Regions from separate parts of the Homo sapiens genome. Here all the other regions are linked to region 3. The links are contacts of gene promoters, found by promoter capture Hi-C in human tissues and cell types (Jung and others, 2019). All regions are on one chromosome and are shown on one strand. Each heading gives the region's core, a stretch centred on a gene start or on the middle of the fragment in contact. The rest is flanking DNA. Distances are from core to core; before and after follow the strand shown. Region 1 has its middle 51 kb from the start of INO80. Region 2 has its middle 40 kb from the start of CCDC32. Region 3 holds the start of PPP1R14D (protein phosphatase 1 regulatory inhibitor subunit 14D). Region 4 overlaps EXD1 (exonuclease 3'-5' domain containing 1).

Region 1 (2,700 bases), core at 33-2,532, 340 kb after region 3:
GGTTCTCTGTCGGGCCGAATCCTCCCAAAAGTATTCTCCCAACATGGCAACCAGAACAAGTGATCTGACAGAAAGAGTGCACCCAAGATGGAAGCCATAGTATTAGGCCTTTTAGAAGCAAGGAAAGTATATACCAAGATTCTGGGAAGATGGCAGGGTGGTAACGGTGGCATACTTTCTAGATCTTCTCAAATCCCCATGTAAAAACAGAATAATTAGAGGACAAAACTCCAAACCCATGAACAATATTTACAACATACTGGGTGATGAAGTAACTCATAAACCTGAAATTGCAAAGAGGTGGGGACAACCCAAGAGATACTGACAACCATGTGGGAAAAACAGTAGAGGGAAGCAATGGGGTATCTGACAGACCTAAGAAGAAAATTGGTATTCACTAGAGAGTGTTAAGCGCCAATTTGAGAACAACAGCTGAAACCAAAAGGGGTTTTTTCACTCCAATAGCAATTGCATGAAAGGATCCCACAGTCTGAAGGTATACCCAGGCTTGAACAGTCTAGACCCTATAAGCTCTGTATAATAACCAACCATGGATCCCTTCCAGGACAAGTTCACACACTGGGGAGAAACTTCTAGAAATGGAACAAAAACTGAGCAGGGTAGGGAAAACAGAAAGGAAAGAGAGATAAAAGTACTAGGGAAGAAGACAAAGCCAAGAAATCTCAGAAAGCAAATAACTGTGATTTTAACACTACACAAAAACAACAAAATAGGAAGCTCTGTGAAGTTAAAAAATTAATTGAGCCTAGCCTGATGTGGTGGCTCACACCTGTAATGCCAGCACTTTGGGGAGCCAAGGCAGGAAAACTGATTGAAGCCAGGAGTTCTAGACCGCCTGGACAACATAGTGGGAACCTGTCTGCCCCCGCCAAAAAAATTTTTTTTTGAGACGAAGTCTAATTCTTTCACCCAGGCTGGAGTGCAGTGGCGTGATCTCAGCTCACTGCAACCTCCACCTCTGGGTTCAAGTGATTCTCCTGCCTCACCTCCCCAGTAGCTGGGATTACAGGCATGTGTCACCATGCCTGGCCCAAAGAAACCCCTTTTTTTTTTTTTTTTGAGATGGAGTCTTGCTCTATCACCCAGGCTGCAATGGAATGGCGTGATCTCGGCTCACTGCAACCTCCGCCTCCCGAGTTCAAGCGATTCTTCTGCCTCAGCCTCCTGAGTAGCTGGGACTACAGGCGCATGCTACAGTGCCTGGCTAATTTTTGTATTTTTAGTAGAGATGAAGTTTCACCATACTGGCCAGGCTGGTCTCGAACTCCTGACCTTGTGATCCGCCTGCCTCGGCCTCCCAAAGTGCTGGGATTACAGGTGTGAGACACTGCGCCCAGCCCCAAATTTTTTTTTGAAAACTAGCTGGGCATGGTGGCACATGCCTCTAGTCCTAGCTACTTGGGAGGCTCAGGTGGGAAGATTGCTTGAGCCCAGGAAGTCAAGACTGCAGTGAGCAGTGATTATGTCACTGCACTCCAGCCTGGGTGACAGAGTGAGAGTGTCTCAAAATAAAAAAAATAAAAAATAAATAGATGAACACTCTAATATATTGGTGCATAAAAAGCTAAAATGCATTAAGAATATTATGTAAGATGGCCGGGCAGGGCGTCTCATGCCTGTAATCCCAGCACTTTGGGAGGATCACTTGAGGCCAGGAGTTGGAGTCTAGCCTTGGCAGTATAATAAGAACCCCATCTCTAAAAAACAAACAAAAAACTATACAGCATATTTTAAAAATCACACTGTATCTGAAAATGGTGATCCAGAATGACCAACACCAAAACATAGTCTAACAAAATCATTTGACTTGAAAGAAAAAGAGGCCAAGGTGGGCAGTTCGCTTGGGTCCAAGAGTTCGAGACCAGCCTGGGCAACATGGCGAGACTCTGTCTCTACTAAAAATACAAAAAAATAGCTGGGTATGGTGGTGCACGCCTGTGGTCCCAGCTACTGAAGTGGGAGGATCACTTAACCCCAGAGGGTGGAGGTTGCAGTGAGCTAAGATTTCGCCACTGCACTCTATCCTGGGTGATAGAGTGAAACACTGTCTCAAAAAAAAAAAAATTATATCAGTCGGGCGCGGTGGCTCACGCCTGTAATCCCAGCACTTCGGGAGGCCAAGGCAGGTGGATCACCTGAGGTCGGGAGTTCAAGACCAACCTGACCAAGATGGTGAAACCCTGGCTCTACTAAAAATACAAAATTAGCCAGGCGGGGTGGTGCATGCCTGTAATCCCAGCTACTTGGGAGGAGGCAGGAGAATCGCTTGAACCCAGAAGGCGGAGGTTGTAGTGATCTGAGATCAAGCCATTGCACTCCAGGCTAGGCAACAAGAGTGAAACTCTGTCTCAAAAAAAAAAAAAATTATATCTTAGTAAAACCGTTAAAAATAATTTGTGGTTGATATAACTTACAATGAGAGTTCATCAAACTACAAATGAGGTTTCTGGTTTACATAATACTATTCTGATTTTCTTCCTATTTGTCTTCTCCTTCTTGGTCTCTGTGTGTATCTCTTCCTGTTTACTTTTTTTTTTTTTTGAGAGGGAGTCTCGCTCGTCGCCCAGGCTGGAGTGTGCAGTGGCGCAATCTCGGCTCACTGCAAGCTCCGCCACCTGGGTTCACGCCATTCTCCTGCCTCAGCCTCCCGAGTAACTGGGACTACAGGTGCCCACCACA
Region 2 (2,700 bases), core at 166-2,665, 300 kb before region 3:
CTGAGGTGGGTGGATCACCTGAGGTCAGAAGTTCAAGACCAGGCTGACCAACATGGAGAAACCCCGTCTCCACTAAAAATACAAAATTAGCCAGGCATAGTGGCGCATGCCTGTAATCCTAGCTACTCAGGAGGCTGAGGCAGGAGAATTGCCTGAACCTGGGAGGCGGAGGTTGTGGTGAGCCAAAATCCCGCCATTGCACTCTAGCCTGGGCAACAAGAGCGAAACTCCATCTCAAAAAAAAAAAAAAAAAAGGAAAAGGTGGATAAGTCTCTCTGGATTTATTTTCCTTACCTGTAAAAAGGAAATAACCATAATTACCTCAACTACTTCAGTAAAATTGTGTTGAACAAATTTTTTGAATTATAAAAGTAAATAGGTAAAAGATAGTTTATTAAATAGGATATAAAAAGGGTCAATAAACAAATGAAAATATGCTCAATATCAATAGCCAACTGAGAAATGCAAATTAAAGCCACAGTGAAATACACACCCACCAGAATGGCTAAAATTAAAGACTGATACTACCAAGTCCTGATGAACACATGGAACAATTAGAACTCTCATTCATTGCTGGTGGGAGTGTTAAATGGGACAACCACTTTAGAAAACATATTGGCAGTTTTTAAAAATAAAACTAACAGACATAACAGTAGTTCCATTTTGTGGTATTTACCCAAGATAAAAGAAAATGTATATTCACAGAACAGCTGTACATGAATGTTCATAGCTGTTTTATTCACAGTAGCCAAAAACTGGACACAAATATCAGTTGACGGGAGAATGGATAAGTAAATTGTGGTATATCCAGAACAATTAAAGACAAGTCAGTAATTTAAAAGAAGAACAAATTATTGATACACACAACATGCATAATCTTTTTTTTTTTTTTTTTTTTTTTTTTTTGAGACGGGAGTCTGGCTCTGTCGCCCAGGCTGGAGTGCGATGGCGCGATCTCGGCTCTGCAAGCTCCAGCCTCCCAGGTTGACGCCATTCTCCTGCCTCAGCCTCCCGAGTAGCTGGGACTATAGGCACCCGCCACCACGCCCAGCTAATTTTTTGTATTTTTAGTAGAGACGGGGTTTCACCGTGTTAGCCAGGATGATCTCGATCTCCTGACCTCGTGATCCGCCCACCTCGGCCTCCCCAAAGTGCTGGGATTACAGGCCTGAGCCACCGCGCCCAGCCACAACATGCATAATCTTAAAAATATTATGTTGAGTGAAAGAAGCCAGACACAAAAGAGTATGTACTGTATAACTGGATTTATGTAAAATTCTAGAATGGACAAAACTAAGCTATAGGGACAGCAGATCAGTGGTTGCCTGGGGCTTATGGGGGTTGGGGCAATTGGCTGCAAAGAGGCATGAGAGAACTTTCTGGAATGATGGAAAGGCTCTGTCTTCATTGGGGTGGTGGTTACATGTGTGTATACCTTTGGAAAAATTCATCAAGCTGTTCTTTTTCTTTCTTTTTTTTTTTTTTTTTTTTTTTTTTTTTGGAGACTGGGTCTTGTTCTGTTGCTCAGGTTTTCTACAGCCTCGACCTCCTGGGGTCAAGCAATCCTCCTGCCTCAGCCTCCTGTGTAGCTATGATTACAGGCCTATGCCACTATGCCCAGCTAATTTTTTAATTTTTTGTAGAGGCAGAGTCTCGCTATGTTGCCCAGGCTGGTCTCCCAACTCCTGGGGCTCAAGCATTCCCCTCACTCAGCTTCCCAAAGTGCTGGGATTACAGGCATGAGTCACCATGCCCAGCCAAGCTGTTCTTTTTTTTTTTTGAGATGGAGTCTCACTCTGTCGCCCAGGCTGGAGTGCAGTGGCACAATCTCAACTCACCGCAACCTCTGCCACCCGGGTTCAAGCAATTCTGCCTCAGCCTCCAGAGTAGCTCGGATTACAGGCGCCTGCCACTGTGCTTGGCTAATTTTGTTGTATTTTTAGTTGAGATGGGGTTTTACCATCTTGGCCGGGCTGGTCTCGAACTCCTGACCTCGTGATCCACTTACCTTCGACTCCCAAATTGGTGGGATTACAGGCGTGAGCCACTGCGCCCGGCCAATTTTTGTATTTTTAGTAGAGACAGGGTTTCACTATGTTGGCCAGGCTAGTCTCAAACTCCTGACCTTAGGTAATCCGCCCGCCTCAGCCTCCCAAAGTGGTGGGATTACAGGCATGAGCCACCATGTATGGCTGAGCACTCTTCCTCTAAAGTCTCCCCAAACTATGTTATGTCTCCTAAATTCTGAAAAAGTCCTTCTAAATATTCTAAAGCCACACTCTTTTAGACTTATTTCCAAGACCTCAGGGAGGCCTACCAGTCCTTCTCAGGCCACTGTAACTGACCTGAAGTGTCCTCTTACCCAGACCTCAGCTCCTTTGACCTCACCCTGGCAGGCCACTGGGACCTCGCCTGCTCCTCAGAGCTGACCCTGCCTGACACCCCTTGTTTCTCCCTTAAGCTTTGAGTGCAGAGACCCAGGACATTCAGGATTCAGCCACAGGTGCTCAGGGAATACTGGGTGGCCTCTGGCCTGGGTTCTCCAAGCCTTAGAAGCCACCCACCCATAATGTCTGGTCCACCCAATGCCCTGGCCCTTGGATGCTCATACTTTGGTGTCTCTCCTTAGGTATAAATAAAATAGTGTCAATAATTACATATCTTTGTCCTTGGCCTTTTTTTTTTTTCTCTCCATGACCT
Region 3 (2,700 bases), core at 194-2,693:
TTGGGAGGCTGAGGTGGGCAGATCACCTGAGGTCGAGAGTTCGAGACCAGCCTGACCAACATGGAGAAACCCCGTCTCTACTAAAAATACAAAATTAGTCGGGCACAGTGGCGCATGCCTGTAATCCCAGCTACTCGGGAGGCTGAGGCAGGAGAATCGCTTGAACTTGGGAGGCGGAGGTTGCAGTGAGCCAAAATCACGGCATTGCACTCCAGGCTGGTTTACAGAGTAAGACTGTCTCAAAAAAAGGCAAAAGAAAAAAGAAATGTGGCCCATGTGACTGGGGAACTGAATAATTTTATTTAATTATAACTCATTTAAAGTCAAACAGCTACACATGGCTGATGGCTACAGAATTGGAAAATGTAGCTCTAGGCTGGGCATGGTGGTGCACACCTGTAATCCCAGCACTTTGAGAGGCCGAGGCAGGCAGACTGTTTGAGCCAAGGAGTTCAAGACCAGCCTGGGCAACATGGTGAAAAGCCGTCTCTACAAAAAAAAATACAAAAAAATTTGCCAGGCGTGGTGGTGCGCACCTGTAGTCCCAGCTACTCAGGAGGCTGAAGTGGGAGGATGGCTTGAACCCAGCAGGCAGAGCAGTGAGCTGAGATTGCACTACTGCATTCCAGCCTGTGCAACAGGGCAAGACTTTGTCTCAAAAACAAACAAACAAACAAAAAACAAAAGAAAGAAAGAAAGAAAGAAACAAAGAAAAAGAAAAGAAACGAAAATGTAGCTCCGGACATGTATGTGCATTGAACATGGGAGTAAATAAAGATATAAAATTTTGAAACATAGTGTGACCAAGCATTTTCCCTTCTATTGTCTCATTTGAGCCTCAGAAAGTCCTATAAAGGAGATATGACAGGCACTAACAGCCCTATTATAGATTAGGGATGTTAAAAGACCTTCCCCAGATCACAAAGAGCATTAGAGGCACAGACAAGCCTAGAGGGAGGCAGACTTCTGGACTTCAAACCGATGCTTCTTTCTTTCATCAGTTACAAAAGCTTTCTCTTCACGGAAGCACCTCACATCAGCCCTCCAGCTCCTGTGAAGGTCTCAGTGCCCTGGGTGGACCCCAGGCCCCCATCTCCTCCCACTATCCGCTGTGCTACCTACCTGGAAGAGCTCCTGAACTTGAGCATCCACCCATTGCTCCATCTCCAGCCAGCGCTGGAGCTGGCCCCGGTCATACTTCACTGTCAGGCGGCTGGGTCTCCGGGACCTGGGTATCTTGGAGGAGTCCGGGTGGGACTTGGACTCTGAGTCTGTGGATGATGTCCTTCTCCTCCCAGAAGCCCAGTGGACCTTCTTACATGGGTTCTCCCCATCTGGGCTGGGAGATGTGCAGGAAGCAGGGCTTGAAGACAGCATGGAAGTATTGGTCTGGGCAAGGAGCTGGGAAAAACCGCCAGTTCTGAGCAGAGCCACAGAGGGAAGTGAGGAGACAGAGAACAGGAGAGGCCAGCAGAGAAGAAATGAAGGCAGGAGGAGGGCCAAGGCTCCCAGGGAGGGGCAAGGGCAAAGATCAATAGGACTTTGGTGCTGGGAATGCCAGTCTCCTGGCTCCTCACTGCCAGCCAGTGAGTGGCACTCCAGAGCCATGCCCCAGCCTCCCTTTCTGCAGCTTCTAGGGCCCAAAGTGGCATAAACTGCAGATGAGCAAAGGTCAAGAGGCTGCCATGCCCAGGGAGGAGGAAGGGGCCCTGGGGTCCTGAAGGGTACAGGGCTCCAATCGCTGCTCTATGGCCAGCTCTGGAATGGGACCTGAGTCGTTCTCACCTGAGATCCCTCTGTATCCCACCTTCCTGGGGCTGGATCCACTCTGGGCTCTGAGAAGCTGTGGTCAGATTCCGCAGAAGCAGGGTCCCTGGCTGGCAGGGATTCTTACTCAGAGCGTAGCACTACTGGGGGCAGAGCCCCAGCTGGTAGATAGAGTTGGAGGTCAGTTATTGATGGCTCCCGTAGGACCAGTGCCCCCAGTGTCTGGGTGTGTCCGAATGTAAACTGCTATCAGCCTGGCCTATAAAGGCAGTTTACCTGCTTGTAAAGGCAAATTTATCAAGACTTGTCTACTATGCCCGCTCCCCTGAGGCAACTGCTTAGGAAGCCATGTTTATTACCACGTGACCCTCCCCCGATTCATGTATTTGCTGACACAGAGGAAACCTGCAAACCTAACTTATACACAGGTGTCAGGGACTAATACTTCCAGGCATACATACTTGCATTCTAAGGCAGGGTATTTTTGTTTAGTCTTTTATAATGAAAATTTCTAAACTTTAAAAAAAAAAAGTGACAGAAGAACACTGTAATTTTTTTTTTTTTTTTTTTGAGATGGAGTCTCGCACTGTCACCCAGGCTGGGGGGCAATGCTGCGATCTTGGCTCACTGCAACATCCGCCTCCCAAGTTCAAGCAATTCTCCTGCCTCAGCCTCCCAAGAAGCTGGGATTACAGGCGCCCACCACCATGCCCGGATAATTTTTTGTATTTTTAGTAGAGACGAGGTTTCACTATGTTGCCCAGGCTGGTCTCAAATGCCTGACCTCATGATCCACCCGCCTCGGCCTCCCAAAGTGGTGGGATTACTGGAGTGAGCCACCGTGCCCAGCCTGTAATTTTTTTAAAATGGGGCCAGGCATGGTGGCTCACGCCTGTAATCCCAGCACTCTGGGAGGCCGAGGCGCGTGGATTG
Region 4 (2,700 bases), core at 145-2,644, 390 kb after region 3:
AATATTTTATCTTAATTCAGAACCCAGAAGCAATGGCTCAGCTTAGGATTCCATAGAGAATCTTGATTCAGGGTTACATCAACTCTAAACAGTAAAGAGAGCCTAGTTGAATTTGACTGACCTGGTTAAAAAAAAAAAAAAGAGAGAGAGAGCCTAGAAAATTCAGAGCCTCGGCTGGGCACAGTGGCTCATGCCTTTAATCACAACACTTTAGGAGGCCAAGGCGGGCGGATCACCTGAGGTCGGGAGTTCGAGACTAGCCTGATCAACATGGAGAAACCCCGTCTCTACTAAAAATACAAAATTAGCTGGGCGTGGTGGCACATGCCTGTAATCACAGCTACTATGGAGGCAGAGGCAGGATAATTGCTTGAATCCAGGAGGTGGAGGTTGCAGTGAGCCGAGATCACGCCATTGCACTGCAGCCTGGGCAACAAGAGCGAAACTCCATCTCAAAAAAAAAAAGAAAATTCAGAGCCCCTATATTCACCTGATGGGCTGTACTTGAGGTCATTCAGCAGAGAGGTAGCTGGTGCTTCAGGGGCAGGAGAAGCAGGCTCACATACATTTAGGTCTTCAACTTTCATTTTCTCCATCCAGGTTCTTTCTGCATGTAGACTATCCTTACAAGAAACAATATTTGGGTGAACTTGTTCTTTGTTGTTGACACCAAAAACAGATTTTGCCACACATTAACGTTAAGGACAGTGGTCCTTCATTAACTAGAGGACCCATTCATCCACTGCTTACATTGACTTGAGGGCGCTATCTAACAATGGAAGAAAACACCTATATATTTCTTCTCATTTCTATTTCCTTATGCCAAGGAATTAAGCAGCTGGTGAATTAGAGTTAAGGCTTTCTACCCTAATGTGCACATTTGGAAAATATCATAATTAAGAAAATTATTCCTTCTTACCTAACAGAAGATGCTTTTGCTCTCACTGAGCCTTGTTCCACTTCATCTAGTAGTTCCACTGTAAAATAACCAAATGGCTTCCAACAGAGTTTCCAATCAGAAATCAATTAACTACTCCACTACCCACACACCCCTAGTTTAACCATGTACTGCAAACAATAATTGGAAATGACATGTTAGTCCACGGAGGCTTTTACTGGCCAGCAATAAATACAACAGAAGAGACCATCTAAAGTACCAAAGACTCTCAGTATTCTATCCCTACAAAGCTTCTTGGTTATTTAGAAGGATTAGGAACATTTCTATACATCCCCTTCACCCTTTTTGTTCTAGGGTACCTTTGTGGTCATTCAAGTTAGTTCTAGAGATTTCTTTCCCACCATCCCAATCCTAATGCACCTTCCTTCACATGGGTGCTGTTTGAGGGTTTTCCTTTTTTTTTTTTTTTTTTTGAGATGAAGTCTCGCACTGTTGCCTAGGCTGGAGTGCAGAGGTGCGACCTCAGCTCACTGTAACCTCCGCCTCCCAGGTTCAGGTGATACTCCTGCCTCAGCCTCCCAAGTCCCATGCCTGGGACTACAGGCATGCGCCACCACACACAGCTAACTTTTGTATTTTTAGTAGAGACGGGGTTTCACCATTGTGGCCAGGCTGGTCTCAATCTCTTGACCTCTTGATCCGCTCGCCTCAGCCTCCCTAAGTGCTGGGATTACAGGCGTGAGCCACCACATCTGGCCTCGTTTAGGTACTTTTCAAGCAAAAAGCCTCTATGTTTCAAAAGTCTCTTTTCTCTGTACTATCTAGAAGTATTGAATCTGGAGCAGAGAAAAGGTAAAATTGACTGAAAAATGCTGATTAGCCATTATTATCCTTCATCTTGACAATTCTTATCCAAGGTACTTTTGGGGACAACTCCTCCATGGTTGATTGGGCCACAGGACAAAGACAGAAATGACTATCCTTTGAGCTTAAAAATTATGAGCAAAGCCTATAATCCCAGCACTCTGGGAAGCTGAGGCAGGCAGATCACCTGAGGTCAGGAGTTCGAGACCAGCCTGGCCAACATGGCGAAACCCTGTGTCTCTACTAAAAAAATACAACAATTGGGCTGGGTGCAGTGGCTCACGCCTGTAATCCCAGCACTTTGGGAGGGTGAGGGGGGTGAATCATTTGAGGTCAGGAGTTTGAGACCAACCTAGACAACATGGTGAAACCCCGTTTCTACTAAAAATACAAAAAAATTAGCTGGGTGTGGTGGCACACACCTGTAATCCCAGCTCCTGGGGAGGATGATGCAGGAGAATTGCTTGAAACCCAGAGGCAAAGGTTGCAGTGAGACAAGATCATACCACTGCACTCCAGCCTTAGCGACAAAGTAAGAATCCGTCTCAAAAAAAAAAAAAAAAAAAGTATGAACGAAGGCCAAACCCTGGAGAAGAATTTAGGAGGCAATGAATTCCGTGCATACAGATCACAAAGCCGGTCAGCCATCAGCCTCCTGAGTTGGGGAGGTGATAGCAGTGATTCCTTCACTTCTCTCTACAAACCCATTCACAGCCTAGCTTTCTCCAATCCAGAGCTCTGTTTCACTTCAAAGGCTGATAGTGAAAACACAATTAAGAACTCCAACTACCACTACTATCCCTGCCATTATAAAAGAATATTCAAGGGACAGAGTGTTCATGACAGCATACTCAATGAGAAAGAAATATGTAGCTGTCCAGACTTGTATTCCCTGAAGTGGCTCTGGATTGGCAGTCATTAATTTGGTAAGATTTTCA

The links. The method cuts DNA at HindIII sites, captures the fragments that hold promoters and counts their contacts. A contact is called where the count stands out against the background at its distance.
Region 1: a fragment that was not itself captured here is called in contact with the fragment with the promoter of PPP1R14D in region 3 in 2 of the 25 tissues and cell types used here (bladder and dorsolateral prefrontal cortex).
Region 2: a fragment that was not itself captured here is called in contact with the fragment with the promoter of PPP1R14D in region 3 in 1 of the 25 tissues and cell types used here (heart left ventricle).
Region 4: a contact is called between a fragment that was not itself captured here and the fragment with the promoter of PPP1R14D in region 3, in 1 of the 25 tissues and cell types used here (IMR-90 fibroblasts).

The regions. Positions count from the first base shown.
Region 1 is chr15:41,165,839-41,168,538 of GRCh38, forward strand. No RefSeq gene overlaps it. Among named protein-coding and RNA genes, the nearest start is that of INO80, 51 kb to the left of the region's middle. The HindIII fragment of the contact is 6,382 bases long and covers 1-2,700 here.
Region 2 is chr15:40,523,269-40,525,968 of GRCh38, forward strand. It overlaps a transcript of CCDC32 not described here. Among named protein-coding and RNA genes, the nearest start is that of CCDC32, 40 kb to the right of the region's middle. The HindIII fragment of the contact is 5,556 bases long and covers 1-2,700 here.
Region 3 is chr15:40,827,265-40,829,964 of GRCh38, forward strand. PPP1R14D (protein phosphatase 1 regulatory inhibitor subunit 14D) reads right to left here and starts at 1,444. Exons shown (of 4, transcript NM_017726.8): 1 at 1,123-1,444. The coding sequence starts at 1,377. The HindIII fragment of the contact is 14,686 bases long and covers 1-2,700 here.
Region 4 is chr15:41,216,178-41,218,877 of GRCh38, forward strand. It overlaps EXD1 (exonuclease 3'-5' domain containing 1), which reads right to left. Exons shown (of 12, transcript NM_001286441.2): 4 at 920-977; 5 at 491-618. Among named protein-coding and RNA genes, the nearest start is that of EXD1, 13 kb to the right of the region's middle. The HindIII fragment of the contact is 6,726 bases long and covers 1-2,700 here.